Linked DNA regions of Homo sapiens: regions 2, 3 and 4 are each linked to region 1. The links are contacts of gene promoters, found by promoter capture Hi-C in human tissues and cell types (Jung and others, 2019). All regions are on one chromosome and are shown on one strand. The core of a region is centred on a gene start or on the middle of the fragment in contact, and the rest is flanking DNA. Distances in the headings are between cores, read along the strand shown.

The links. The method cuts DNA at HindIII sites, captures the fragments that hold promoters and counts their contacts. A contact is called where the count stands out against the background at its distance.
Region 2: a contact is called between a fragment that was not itself captured here and the fragment with the promoter of CALU in region 1, in 2 of the 25 tissues and cell types used here (hippocampus and mesenchymal stem cells).
Region 3: a contact is called between a fragment that was not itself captured here and the fragment with the promoter of CALU in region 1, in 1 of the 25 tissues and cell types used here (mesenchymal stem cells).
Region 4: a fragment that was not itself captured here is called in contact with the fragment with the promoter of CALU in region 1 in 2 of the 25 tissues and cell types used here (hippocampus and mesenchymal stem cells).

What each region holds. Positions count from the first base shown.
Region 1 is chr7:128,737,596-128,740,967 of GRCh38, forward strand. CALU (calumenin) reads left to right here and starts at 1,764. Exons shown (of 7, transcript NM_001219.5): 1 at 1,764-1,837. RefSeq lists silencers at 1,371-1,510, 1,581-1,720 and an enhancer at 2,001-2,100. The HindIII fragment of the contact is 3,801 bases long and covers 1-3,372 here.
Region 2 is chr7:128,526,466-128,529,837 of GRCh38, forward strand. No RefSeq gene overlaps it. Among named protein-coding and RNA genes, the nearest start is that of METTL2B, 51 kb to the left of the region's middle. The HindIII fragment of the contact is 6,916 bases long and covers 1-3,372 here.
Region 3 is chr7:128,954,797-128,958,168 of GRCh38, forward strand. TNPO3 (transportin 3) reads right to left here. Exons shown (of 23, transcript NM_012470.4): 22 at 2,428-2,519; 23 at 1-589. The coding sequence ends at 2,459. Among named protein-coding and RNA genes, the nearest start is that of IRF5, 19 kb to the left of the region's middle. The HindIII fragment of the contact is 3,933 bases long and covers 1-3,372 here.
Region 4 is chr7:128,594,545-128,597,916 of GRCh38, forward strand. No RefSeq gene overlaps it. Among named protein-coding and RNA genes, the nearest start is that of LINC01000, 45 kb to the right of the region's middle. The HindIII fragment of the contact is 6,994 bases long and covers 1-3,372 here.

The sequences.
Region 1 (3,372 bases), core at 514-3,013:
GCCCAGGCTGGAGTGAAGTGGTACAGTCATAGTTCATTGCAGCCTCAACCTCCTGGGCTCAAGCAACTAGCTTGAACTACATGTGTGTGCCACCACACCCAGCTAATTTTTAGTTTTTGTTTTTTTGTAGAGATAGGGGGAGGAAGGGTCTCGTTATTTTGCCCAGGCTGGTCTCAAACTCCTGGCCTCAAGTGATCCTTAAGGAGGTATTTTAAAAACTGTTTTCGAAATAATGCCTCCTGAGGTAGCCTGTTTTATTGTTAATACCCATTAGATGGCTTCCCTGTAGGCACAAGCTTAGAAACTTTCCCAGGAAGACCCACAGTTCCCACTGTCTTCAGTTCAGGTTCCTCAAATTGACAAGATCTTCCATTACCTCTCCAAACTTACTATCCATGCTTTTCTTTCATTGTTTCCCCCCACCCCTTTTTTTAACCTTCCTCATTTGCTACCTGGCCTGAGAATTTACCTCCCACTCTGCCCTCCACTTGTCCTTATTCCTATTACTCTTCTTGCTGAATAGTCCATTTGGGACTTCCTTAGTCCAGCCTTAGTCATATCTTCCTCTGAAGCCTTCCCTGACTACCACCAAGGGTCACTGACACTCCTTTGAATGCCAGAAGGATTAGTTGTAAACCTTTCACGTTGACAGTAACTAGCTTGCTTTCATGAGCTTAACTGTTTCATGAGTTTACAACTTGTCTCAATTTGATTTTAAACTACAGAGGCTTTATGTGCTAAGAATGCCACAGGTTTACATTCCATTTGTGTTGAAGCTATAGTAGCCTTTATTTGATATTTGTTTTAATTTCATGACATGAAATTAAATTTTCAGGGACATGCAACGGGTTCGGCCCATTCCCTTCACTTAACATTACTGAGCTGGGCAGTAAGCTCAGAGTTGCAGATATAAAGATGAATAGACAGATACCTACCCAGGAGCTTACTCTAGAAGAGGACAGATGGATAAGCTACATTTTATAGCAGAATTTGGCAAAGTGTACTGAAGCTATAAACAGCTATGATGGTAAATAAGGTAAGAATTATGCTTAGTGAGGTCAGGGAAGGCTTCTAGAGCTAACATCTGAACTGGGACTTCTATTGGCAAGGCAGAAAATCAGGAAAACGCACTTATTCCTGGCAGAGGAAGCCTCTTGATCAAAAATCTTAAGAGATGAAAAAGGACCGGTTGTTAGGAAACAGATGATGGTGCCCAGAGCGCAAGATGAGGGGGAGTGTTGGGAGATGGAGCTAAAAGATACACTGGTGCCAAAGACTGAAGAGCCTCCTGTAGATAGCGCAGGGCGCAGCGCTGAAGGGAAAGAAAAAGTTGGGATTGTTCAATAAAGTTGGTGACTGATTCAGTCGGATTAATTCCGCCCTGGTGGTCTTGTGGGAATGAAGATAACTAGCAGGATAGTCTAAGAAGCCCTGTGGAAGCAGAGTCATGAGCTGTGAATGGGGACGTGGCGGCCACACGGCCGCGCCCACGCCACCCGCAGTACGGGGCTGGGGCTGGGGCTGGGGCTGGAGCCCGCCGTCCCAACAATCCCGGGGACGAGAGTTGGGCGGGAATCCGCTCCACGCAACTCGGCGCGGTCCCGGGGACGTGGCGCTTTCCAGCCAATCCCGGCTATGCGATTGTTAGACCAATGGCTACTCGGGGACGCTATGCGACAGCGGCGGGTTTGCTGATGATTGGTCGGGAGGCCGCCGGCGAGGCGGATGAGGGCGGGGTGCGGACCCGCTTCCGGTTGGGCGGTGCTTGCGCGCGTGAGCTGAGCCGGTGGGTGAGCGGCGGCCACGGCATCCTGTGCTGTGGGGGCTACGAGGAAAGGTAAGTACGGTGATGCCCAGCCCCTTCACCACTGCCTCATCTTTATTCGCTTTCTTTCTGTCCCCGGTCTTGTTCTTGGCGCGGCAGGGGACTGCCTCACTCGGTGCCGCTGTCTCTGCTGGCGCCCGGGTCCCAGGCCTGATGCTGCTGGAGATCCCGGGACCCTCTGTGTGCAGCCTGGGATGGAGGCCGCCGCCCGTCTTACCGCGCGCTCTGGGAAGGGGGCTGGTCCGGTGGAACTCTGTCCCGTTGGGTACTGTTCTGTGCCTGGTTTGCTGCGTCCTGGTCCTCCATCTCTAGGTCACGCCACTCACCGAGTCTCTGGCACCAGAGGGTCATTTTTTGCCTCCGGAAGGTCGGAGGGCATTTGGATAGTGTTATTGTAAGAGTTCCTTGCCGCCTCCACTCACCATCCTGCTTGTATCTGCCAGCTCCGCCCCAAGGCCACATCCCGACAGTAGGGTGCATCTGCCAAGGTCGTGTTCACTCACCTAAAGGGTGCAGAAACAAGGGGGGAGAGAACGAGTGACGACACTAGGTGATATCTATGATTTTAAAGAAAAGCTGAATGTTTAGAGCTTCCATATTTGGCTACGTACTTCAGTTAGCGACGGAAAATAGTTTTTAAAGCTTTATTGGGGAATTAATTTTTGTTACGTTTTTTGTTGCTTCTAGCCCCATATCCTACTGATTTTTAGCATGCTGCGGTCAGAAATAAACTTAATTCCCTATAGCTGCCGCGATTAAGCGTAGAGTGGCTTGCAGTTTCAAAAGCTGCTTTTGCATCAAGGCCCAAGCTCCGTGGGTCTCCTGCTAAAACTTTTGAGCCTGTGATCTGAATTCCTAAGTGTATAAAATTCTAGAATAGTGTCTTCGAGAATTGAGTTGCGTTCATTTTCTGGTGTGGACCATGAAGTCAACGTTAATGAATTGGGAATAAGGTGGCTTCTAGTTGTTTTTTGTTCTAGTAGCTTATTCAGCTTGGAGGCAGAGAACCTTGGAATCTCTGTTAAATTAGTCTGCCATAGAATGGAACTTGACACAAGACAAATGCAAGTTTGACCTCACTCAGTAGATTTAATTAACCAAATACCAAACGACAGTAATCACTGAAGAATTTATATAGTATAATCCAAATGAGGGACCAGATATAACCTCTAAGTTGTATTTGTCAAGAAAATGAGTTTGCCAAGACCTAATCTGAGGTTTTACTGTGATTGGGGGGTGGGGGGGTTCCAATAGGATTCTTTTGAGAATCACAAGTAGGAAAGCCATGAGCTCACAAAAATGTATTGAGTATGCCTGAGTGAATAGTACTCAATATAGCTTTGAAACCAACTCATTGTCACTCTCAATGTAATCATTGTTTGTTTTCATTCATCCAGTGATGTGTCAAGAAGTACTTATTGATAGCACTTAATATCCATTAGAGCAGTATTGGGATCTATATATTGGTGTTATTTTTTAAAATTTATTTATTTTAGAGTTGAGGGTCTCAGTATGTTGACCAGGTGGAGCCTTGAACTCCCATGCTC
Region 2 (3,372 bases), core at 634-3,133, 210 kb before region 1:
TTTTTTTTTGAGACAGAATCTCACTGACACGCAGGCTGGAGTACAATGGTGGGTTCTCAGCTCACTGCAACCTCCACCTTCTGGGCTCAAGTGATCTCCCAACCTCAGCCTGCTGAGTAGCTGGGACCACGAGCATATGGCAACATGTGCAACTAACTTTTGTATTTTTTTTTTTTTGTTAATTATTATTTTTTGAGACCGAGTCTCGCTCTGTCGCCCAGGCTGGAGTGCAGTGGCGGGACCTTGGCTCACTGCAAGCTCTGCCTCCTGGGTTCACGCCATTCTCCTGCCTCAGCCTCCCCAGCAGCTGGGACTACAGACGCATGCTGCCACGCCTGGCTAATTTTTTGTATTTTTACTAGAGACAGGGTTTCACTGTGTTAGCCAGGATGCTCTCGATCTCCTGACCTCGTGATTCGCCCGCCTCGGCCTCCCAAAGTGCTGGGATTACAGGCATGAGCCACCGCACCCGGCCCTGCATTTTTTTTTAAAGATGTAATTTTTTTTTTTTTTTGAGAGGGCGTCTAGCTCTGTTGCCTGGGCTGGAGTGCAGTGGTGCTGTCTTGGCTTACTGCAAACTCCACCTCCTGGGTTCATGCCATTCTCCTGCCTCAGCCTCCCAAGTAGCCGGGACTACAGGCGCCAGCCACCACACCCGGCTAATTTTTTTTTATTTTTAGTAGAGACTGGGTTTCATCTTAGCCAGGATGGTCTCGATCTCCTGACCTCGTGATCTGCCCGCCTCGGCCTACCAAAGTGCTGGTATTACAGGTGTGAGCCACCGCGCCCGGCCTAAAAGACATAAGTTTGCATGTTGCCCAGGCTGGTCTCGAACTCCTGGTGTCAAGTGATCCACTGCCTCGGCCTCCCAATGTGCTGGGATTACAGGTGTGAGCCACCACACCTGGCCTCTTTTTTTTTTTTTTTTTTAAGAGACAAGGTTTCAATATATTGCCCAAGCTAGACTCAAACTCCTGGCCTCAAGCAATCCTCCTGCCTCAGCCTCCTAAGAGGCTGGAACTACCGACAGGTGCACACCACTACGCTTGGCTCCTGTCTATGGCGGAGGTTGCACTGAGCAGAGATTGTGCCATTGCACTCCATCCTGGGCGATAGAGTCAAACAACAACAAAATCCCCTTAAGGCTCTTTCCTAGCAACCAAACGTTTTTCCATTTTGTTAGGAATGGGAAGAAGAGAGGAAATAACTGGCTAAGTAACTACTCTACATCAAGCACGGTTACAAGGCATTTTCCACCATTATTTCAATTTTAATGAAAGCTGCTCATGAAATTAGGTTTACTGGGTCACAGTTTTCAGATGAGGAACCTGGGACAGGTGAAGGGACAGAATTGGAACCCAGTTCTGTCACCATAGATGCCCCACCTGTTCTACACTGGCCTGTCAAGAATAACAATAATAAAAATTATTATTTTAGAGACAGAGTCTTGCTCTGTTGGCCAGGTGGATTGCAGTGGCACGACCTCGGCTCACTGAAACCTTCGACTCCCAGGTTCAAGCGATTCTCCTGCCTCAGTCTCCCGACTAGCTGGGATTACAGGTGCCCGCCGCCACGCCCAGCTAATTAAAAAAATATTTTTAGTAGAGATGGGGTTTCACCATGTTGGCCAGGTTGGATCTCAATCTCCTGACCTCGTGATCCGCCCGCCTTGGCCTCCCAAAGTGCTAGGATTACAGGTGTGAGCCACCGCACCAGGCCCAATGATTATTTTAAATAATAATAATAATTTTTTTTGAGACGGAGTCTCGCTCTGTCACCCAGGCTGGAGTGCAGTGGTGTGATCTCGGCTTACTGCAACCTCCGCCTTCTGGGTTCAAGCGATTCTCCTGCCTCAGCCTCCCGAGTAGCTGGGACTACAGGCGCCCGCCACCATGCCTGGCTAATTTTTTTGTATTTTTAGTAGAGACAGGGTTTCACTGTGTTAGACAGGATGGTCTCGACCTCCTGACCTCATGATCCACCCACCTCGGCCTCCCAAAGTGCTGTGATTACAGGCATGAGCCACCGCTCCCAGCCTTAAATAATTACTTTTATTTTATTATCATTATTTTTGAGACAGGGTCTCACTCTGTCACCCAGAATGGAGTGCAGTGGTGCCATCTTGGCTCACTGCAACCTCTGCCTCCCGGGTTCAAGCGAATTCTCCTGCCTCAACCTCCCAAGTAGCTGAAAGTACAGGTACGTGCCACTATGCCGAGCTAATTTTTGTATTTTTAGTAGACACAGGGTTTCACCATGTTGGCCAGGCTGGTCTCGAACTGCTGGCCTCAAGTGATCCACCCGCTTTGGCCTCCCAGAGTGCTGGGATTACAGGCGTGAGCTACTGCACCCAGCCTAATTACTTTGAAAAATGGGATCACAGGCCAGGTGCGGTGGCTCATGCCTGTAATCACAGCACTTTGGGAGGCCGAGGTGGGCAGATCACGAGGTCAGGAGTTCGAGACCAGTCTGGCCAACATAGTGAAACCCCGTCTCTACTAAAAATACAAAAAATAGGCCAGGTGTGGTGGTGTGCGCCTGTAATCCCAGCTAGTTGGGAGGCTGAGGCAGGAGAATCGCGTGAACCCAGGAGAAAGAGGTTGCAGTGAGCTGAGATTGCGCCACTGCACTTCAGCCCGGGCGACAGTGAGAGACTCCGTCACCAAAATAAAATAAAAAAAAATAAAAAGATCCTCTAGCCCAAATCCCTCCAACACAGAAGCAGTCGGAGAAGCTTGAAAAGGTTAGATGATAGGCCCATGTAGCTTGTCTGTGGAAAGAGCTAGGCTGCAAGACACCTCTGACTCCGTTGAGTGCTTTCTCTTACTCTCCTTTCCCGATTTAAGACATTAAATCATTTAAGACAGTGTCATTTGGTCGGGCGCGGTGGCTAACGCTTGAAATCCCAGCACTTTGGGAGGCTGAGATGGGCGGATCACCTGAGGTCAGGAATTCGAGACCAACGTGGCCAACATGGCAAAACCTCGACTCCACCAAAAAAAAAAAAAATTAGCCGGGCCTGGTAGCGCGTGCCTGTAATCTCAGCTACTCAGGAGGCTGAGGCAGGGAGAACTGCTTGAACCCGGGTGGCAGAGGTTGCAGTGAGCCAAGATCGCACCACTGCACTCCAGCCTGGGCGACAGAGCGAGACTCTGTCTCAAAAAAAAAATTTTTTTTTAAAAGACAGTGTCATTTGATGGAGTTGCTTTCTTGATCGTTGGCTGCAATGAAAGACCTAGCCTCACTGTCTTTTGTGTTGCCTTGGACCGGCTCTTAGGTTCTACTGCCCTAACAGGCAGTGGAGGCTGGCCTCGAGTGGTAGTCATCCATCTTGCCCTCTTTTCCTACCCTCTACCCCCAACCCCCGAGCTG
Region 3 (3,372 bases), core at 285-2,784, 220 kb after region 1:
ATTTAAAAGGAGGGGAGAGAGAAAGAGAAGGAAGGGTAGGAGAGGAAAGAGAGGACAAAACAATAGAAAACCTGAACAAATGACCCTGACCCTCTTCTTCCAATTGCAGCTATTTAATTCATGTGAATCCCCACATTATCCCTAAGTAAATATTTTGTTTCACAGAAAGCTTGTCCTTTTGTTTTTCTGTGTACACGTGCGCACTGGCGCTTGTGCGTGTATGTGTGTGTGCGTGCATGTGTCATTTGCTACCAGGTGAATGTTTCAGTTCTGGTTTCTGTTTAGTCTTCCTTTTTTTTCTTTTTTCTTTACTTAAAATTATTTTTCCTTTTAGAAAGTTCACCAGGAAACCAGCTCCCCTCCCACCACGCCGGGCAGGCCACAGCCATCTTTTTAAAATCCGCGCTGATTTTCCCTCACACCCCCAAACAGGAACTCCTCAGGATGGCCTCAGAAGGCTGGAGTCTCTCCCTGTCTGGCGGGACACCCTGGTGGCGGTGAAGGCCCCTCTGCCACAACGGAGGTTTCTGATTGTGGGACACAGTCTGGTTTTTGTTTTCTTCCTGTCTTCTAATTAAAAAAGACATTCCTGACAAAAGAGATAAGACAGTCAATAACTGCACCAGAAAATAGAGCATTTAGTAAAATCAACCTTAAGGCAGAGGTTTCTATATTTCCTCAGGTACCTCATTCTGAAGTCTGCCAATAAGAACTCAGAAAAAATAAACAAATAAATAAAAGTCTGGCGTTTTAACTTGTGGGTTCAAGGGAGCTACTGCTTTAATGAGACACCGTCTGCAGTGTGCTTCCAATGCTGAGTGTGCTGTGGAAACAAGGGATGATGTGTCAGGAGGGCAAAGAGCCAGCAGGTCCAGGCCTCCCATTCCAAAGCAACCAGGGAAGCTTTGCCTCAGTCTGCTAAATCCCACAGGCTTCATGTCGATTTTATTTTGAAAGAAGGCTTTGCCTACTAATAACAGTTGAAAACAAAACAAAACAAAACACCAATTTAGATGCTATCGAAAGGATACTGTATTAAGCGGAGTGGTTCAAAGTGAGGACTCTGGTACCAGAATATCTACATGTGAATTCTGGCTCCACGAATAACTGTCAGGCAAATTGTTAAACATTGTTGAACCTCAATTTCCTCATTTGTAAAATGGGAAAAATAGTAACAAATCCAGAAAAGCAGATGAGGATTATCTTAGTTAATACATCTAAAACACTTAAAACAGTGCCCTGACACACAGTAAGGGCACAATAAAAGTTAACCATGAACACCTACAGCTGTCCATGAGCAACCTTATGAGGTGTATCAATGTCAGCTAACCCAGACACCATGCAAAACCAGGACATCCCAAATGATATTATTACTCATTAAAACAATCAAAGTTGAGAAATGATTTTGGGTGTGGCAAGGCACTGCTGAACATCACTTTTACCTATGAATGCATTTAACACAGAAACTACCAGTGAGTGCTACAGATTCATCAAGAATTGCCTCCTGGGAGAAGAAACTCACCTTGAGACATCAAAGGGTGGGCTTAGAGGAGAGCTACCTTTCTTCTCTCCATCAAGAAACTGGCACCCAAATTCTACTACCCACTCCTTTCAGCTAAGCTTCTTGCTTTGCTTCAGAACCAGGAGACGGAAAGCACGTGGAGAAAAGTGCTCATCGGGAGCCAAAGATGCTCCTCCTCTCCTGTAAGGGCCAAGCATCCCTAACAGCTGAAACTTTTTGAACGCTGATATGACCCTCAAGCGAATGAGCATTGGAGCATTTTGGATTTTGGATTTTTGGATTAGGAATGCTCAACTGGTGTGCATTCTGCAAATATTCCAAAATCCCAAAAAATCCAAAATTGAAAAACACTTCTGAAAGTGTTTTTTCCTCCGAAATCCCAAGCATTTCGGATAAGGGATATTCAATTCATACCTCCTGCCCTGGTCAAAACCTGGCACTTCAGCATTCAGGTCATAAAAGTGATAAGAATAAGCTCTTTGCTCATTACATCTGGAGGGTCAGTTTTAGGAGACTGGCACCACATATAACAGTCAACTTGAGGTTGTTTTCGCCAAAGTGGCCAGGTTAAAAATACTTATTTGTTTGTTGCCATGTACACTTACCATCTTAGAAGTGTCTGTAAGGGGAAGGGGGAAGAAAATGTTTCAATGCACTGTGTAACAGTTACTTTCTTATGGAGGTGAAAATGGTACCCCAAAGACACTGACAATTACTGGCTGCCCAGGCCCAAGAAAATCCGGGCCCTGTATATTCCAGCTGTTCACCACAGTTAAACTGCTGAGTCCTTCCCTGACTCTAGCTATAAGACTGGTCCCATGATAGGCATTAAAACCTATCCCCATTCCCAGGCATCCCCAACAGTCCGACAGTCCGGACAAAAGCTGGGAACTATGTATCCTCACCTGGGTGACAGGCACAGTGCAGGAGTGTGAGCTATCGAAACAACCTGGTGAAGTCTCGCAAGGCCCAGCAAACTTGTTTACATTCCTCAGCACTAGAAAAGAAAAGGTAGGTTGGTCCTTGACTGAGGAGAAAGACAGAATATGCTGAAAAACAACTGCAACATTGGGGCACACTGAGAACCGTCCCAACTCTGCTAGGAGCTCTCTCCATCGTCTCCTGAGCGATCCTGGCTTCAGATCTTTCTGTAATTCAGGGCAAAAATTATTATATATGAGAAAAGTTATAAGCTTGGTGGTCTTCAAAGGGTGTACTCTGGACACAAACTGCCCGAGTTTGAATCTTGGCTCCACTGTGCCCTTGAACAAGTTACCAATCTTTGTCTCAGTTTCCTCATCTATTAATATTATCTACTTCATAACACTGTTTAGAGGATTAAAATCGTCCACATACAGAGTGCTTATGAAAATAGAGCAGTGAACAAAATAGTATTCAATAAATGTAGGCTGCTACAACAACACTTGGTTGCTACGGCTCTCATAAGTTTCCTCATTCTCTTCCAAAGATAGATTTTGTTTACAAAGGCCGGTCTAGCAACTAAGTCTCCACCAGTCATTGATTTTCTAGTTGAACAGGCTGCTCAGGATTTCCTCCTGTGGGAGGAGGAGGGAGAGAGGAAAGGGTTAAAGCATGTAGAAAGAGAGACAAAGCAGGAGATGCCTATGTGATATGAATAGCCCAATATTCAACTGACCCTGTTTTTTCAAAAGCCCCCCGACCTCCCTTTGTCCAAAACTGTCACCAAGAAACCAGCTGATGCCAGCTTCATTCTACTGTATCTGTCTTCATAACAGTTTTTGCTAAATGAACATAAGGCTAAGCTAAAAGCTAAAGCAGTGGAGAAGGAAGCACTTCCTTTTTTTTTTTTTTTTTTTTTTTGATATGGA
Region 4 (3,372 bases), core at 405-2,904, 140 kb before region 1:
TATACAAGTGTAAATCAGCAAAGGAAAGCAGATTCCTAGAAAAGTAGGCAAAGACTGTTTTTGAAAAGAAGGCAAGCGGCTAATAACATGAAATACCACTCAATTTTGGCCATAGAGAAGTGCAAAATAAAACAAGATAACATTTTTGACCTAGCAAATTGGCAAGGATTAATAAGTTTGATAGTTCTTGGTGTAGGTGATAGTTTAGAGATACATTCAGTTTTATTCTGTCTATAAATTGTTGAAGTCATGTGGACAACTTGGTAATGTATCTCAATGTTAAGTTTACATATCCTTGGGTCCAGAAATTCCATTCCCATAAAATTACACAAAGATATTTATTGAGGTATTGTTTATCGTTGCAAAAAATCTGGAAGCAGTTTCCCTTCCAGTATTTCAGAGGATATGACCTTCGCATCAGAACTCATCTGACGTAATTCATTAGCGACTGTTGATCACTTCTTTCTTCTCTAAGCATACGGTCTTCACTCGGCTTCCACTCTTGATTTTTCCTCACATCCTCTATCTCTGAACATTAGAGTGTTCCAGGGCTCTGTCTTCAGATTCATTTATCTACCTTCATTTTCTTCTTAACCTCCCTCTCTCTCTCTTTTTTTTTTTTTTTTTTTCAATTGAGACAGGGTCTCACTCTGTTGCCCAGGCTGGAGTGCAGTGGTGCAATCTCAGCTCACTCCAACCTCCATCTCCTGGGCTCAAGCGATTTCCCCACCTCAGCCTCCCAAGTAGCTGGGAGTACAGGCGTCTGCTACCACGCCTGGCTGATTTTTTAGTAGAGACAGAGTATTGCCATGTTGGCCAGGCTGGTCTCAAACTCCTGACCTCAAGTGGTCCTCCCGCCTCGGCCTCCCCCAAAGTTCTGGGATTACAGACGGGAGCCACCACACCCAGCCTTCTTAATCTCATCTAGTTCCTTTGTTACTAAAACTTAACTCCTATGTGCAGAGGATTTCCAAGTTTATGCGTCCAGCCCAGAGCTCTGCCCTGAATTTCAGGCCTGTGTCAGTTGCCTCCAGTCATTTCCTTTTTATGTCTAACAAACATATCAAATGTAACATGTTCAAAACTGAACTCTTCCTTCTGTTCCCCACCCGAAACCCATTTCTCCTACGGCCGCCTTTCTCCTCCTCCTCCTCCTCCTCCTCCTTCTCCTCCTCTTCCTCTTCTTCTTCTTTCACCTTTCTTCTTTCTTTCTTTTTTTTTTTTTTAAATAGAGACAGAGTATTAGTGTATTACCTAGGCTGTTCTTGAACACCTGAACTCAAGTAATCCTCCCACTTTGACCTACCAAAGTGCTGGGATTTTAGATGTGGGCCACCGTGCCTGACCTCCACAGCCTTCTACATCTCAATAACTGTCAACTTTTCTCCTTCTAATTTTTACAGCTAAAATCCTTGGAGTCATTCTTGTCTTTCTCTTCTTTTTATATTATATGCTAAATCCAAATCTATCAGTAAAGCTTATTGATTTTACCTTCAAAATATGTTCAGAATTTTTTTTTTTTTTTTTTTTTTTGAGATAGAGTCTTGCTTTGTTACCCAGGCTGGAGTGCAGTGGTGCAATCTGGGCTCACTGCAACTTCCACCTCCCAGGTTCAAGCCGGTTCTCCTGCCTCAGCCTCCCAAGTAACTGGGATTACAGGCACGTACCACCATACCCAGCTGATTTTTGTATTTTTAGTAGAGATAGGGTTTCACCATGTTGGCCAGGCTGGTCTTGAACTCCTAACCTCAGGTGATCCACCCGCCTTGGCCTCCCAAAGTGCTGGGATTACAGGCATGAGCCACTGCATCTGGCCTATGTTCAGAATTTTACCACTTCTAATTCTCTTCACTGCTGCCACTCCAACTTAAACCATTGTCTCCCACTGAGATAACTGGACCCATTGCTTTGACCTTTGTTTTCTTTTAATCTGTTCTTAACAAAGCAGAGTGATTGTGTTGAAGCATAAGTCCAGTCATGCCACTCCCCTGTCGAAAAGTCCTTAAAGTGGCCCTGCATGGTTTGTTTTCCTCCACCCTGACATGTTTTACTACTATCTCCCTTTCTCATCAGATTCCATGCACGCTAGCCACCTTGTTTTCTCAAATACTCTCTCTCAGTGATGCTCTCACCTCGGGGCCTTTGCGTTGGCTGTTGCCTTTGCCCTAACATTCTTCACCCATATATCATCATGCCCCGCTCTCTCAGTTCCCTCTGGTTTCTGCTTATATTTACTCTATGAGAGAGGCCTACCTTGGCTACACTATAAAATAGCAACTTCTCCCCACCCACCCCACCTGTTATTGAGCTCCTAGGCCCTGCGTTGTTTTTCTCCTTAGTCTACACCAGCTGACGTACTATGATGGACTTTTGTCTGACTTCCCCCCACTGGAATGTAAGCTCCATCAGGTCAAGGACTTTACTTTGTTCACTTGTGTATCTGCAATGCCCAGAACGGGACCTGCTCTAATAGACACTCAGTGTAATTATATGTTGCATGAGTTAGTAAAAGCATTCTTTATAGAGGGACTGGTTAAATGAATTCTAATACATTTGTACAGTGGAATGCTATACAGCTGACAAAAGAAGTGAGGTAGCTGTATATACACCAATGAAAGGTTTCTAAATATGTGTTGATAAAAATAGGTGGCAGAATATTAAGAATTTGATCTTTTAAATGTTTAAAATTATTACATAATTGTGTGTTTTAACATAGGAAATTTGAGGTTTTATTTTTAAGAGAGAGGTCTCGCTATGTTGCCCAGGCTGGGGTACGGTGGCTATTCACAGGTGCAATCATAGCATTATAGCATACTATAGCCTTGGAACTTCTGGGTTCAAGCAATTCTCTTGCCTCAGTTTCCAGAGTAGCTGCAACTAGAGATTGCACCACAGTAGCTGCAACTAGAGATTGCACCACTGCACTCCAGCCTGGGTGACAAAGTGAGACTCAGTCTCAAAGAAAAAAAAAATTAGTATTTGGCCTCACAGTCTAGTGCTCATTCTATACCACCACACTAGCTCCCAGTATGAAGACTATCTGTTTGTACAAAGACAATATATATCAGGCTAGAGAATAAGATATCTGAGCTGACCTCTCACTTTTAACTTTATGACATTACAACATACATAAAGATCCAGGAAGAAGGGAGATGTAGAGGGATTAGAAAAAGGTCATTTCCTCTTCTATTGGTGAGAATGTTGTCAGGGAAAATCATAAGCAAATAGTTTCCTAAATTATGAAAATAGAACATGTACGTGACCCGCAAGAAATTGAGGAGATGGAGAAGAGTAAAATTCTTCCCTTGGATTTCTCAGAGAGATAACTACTGTTAACAGTTTGTGTTTTGGATTTTCTAAGGATTACCATTT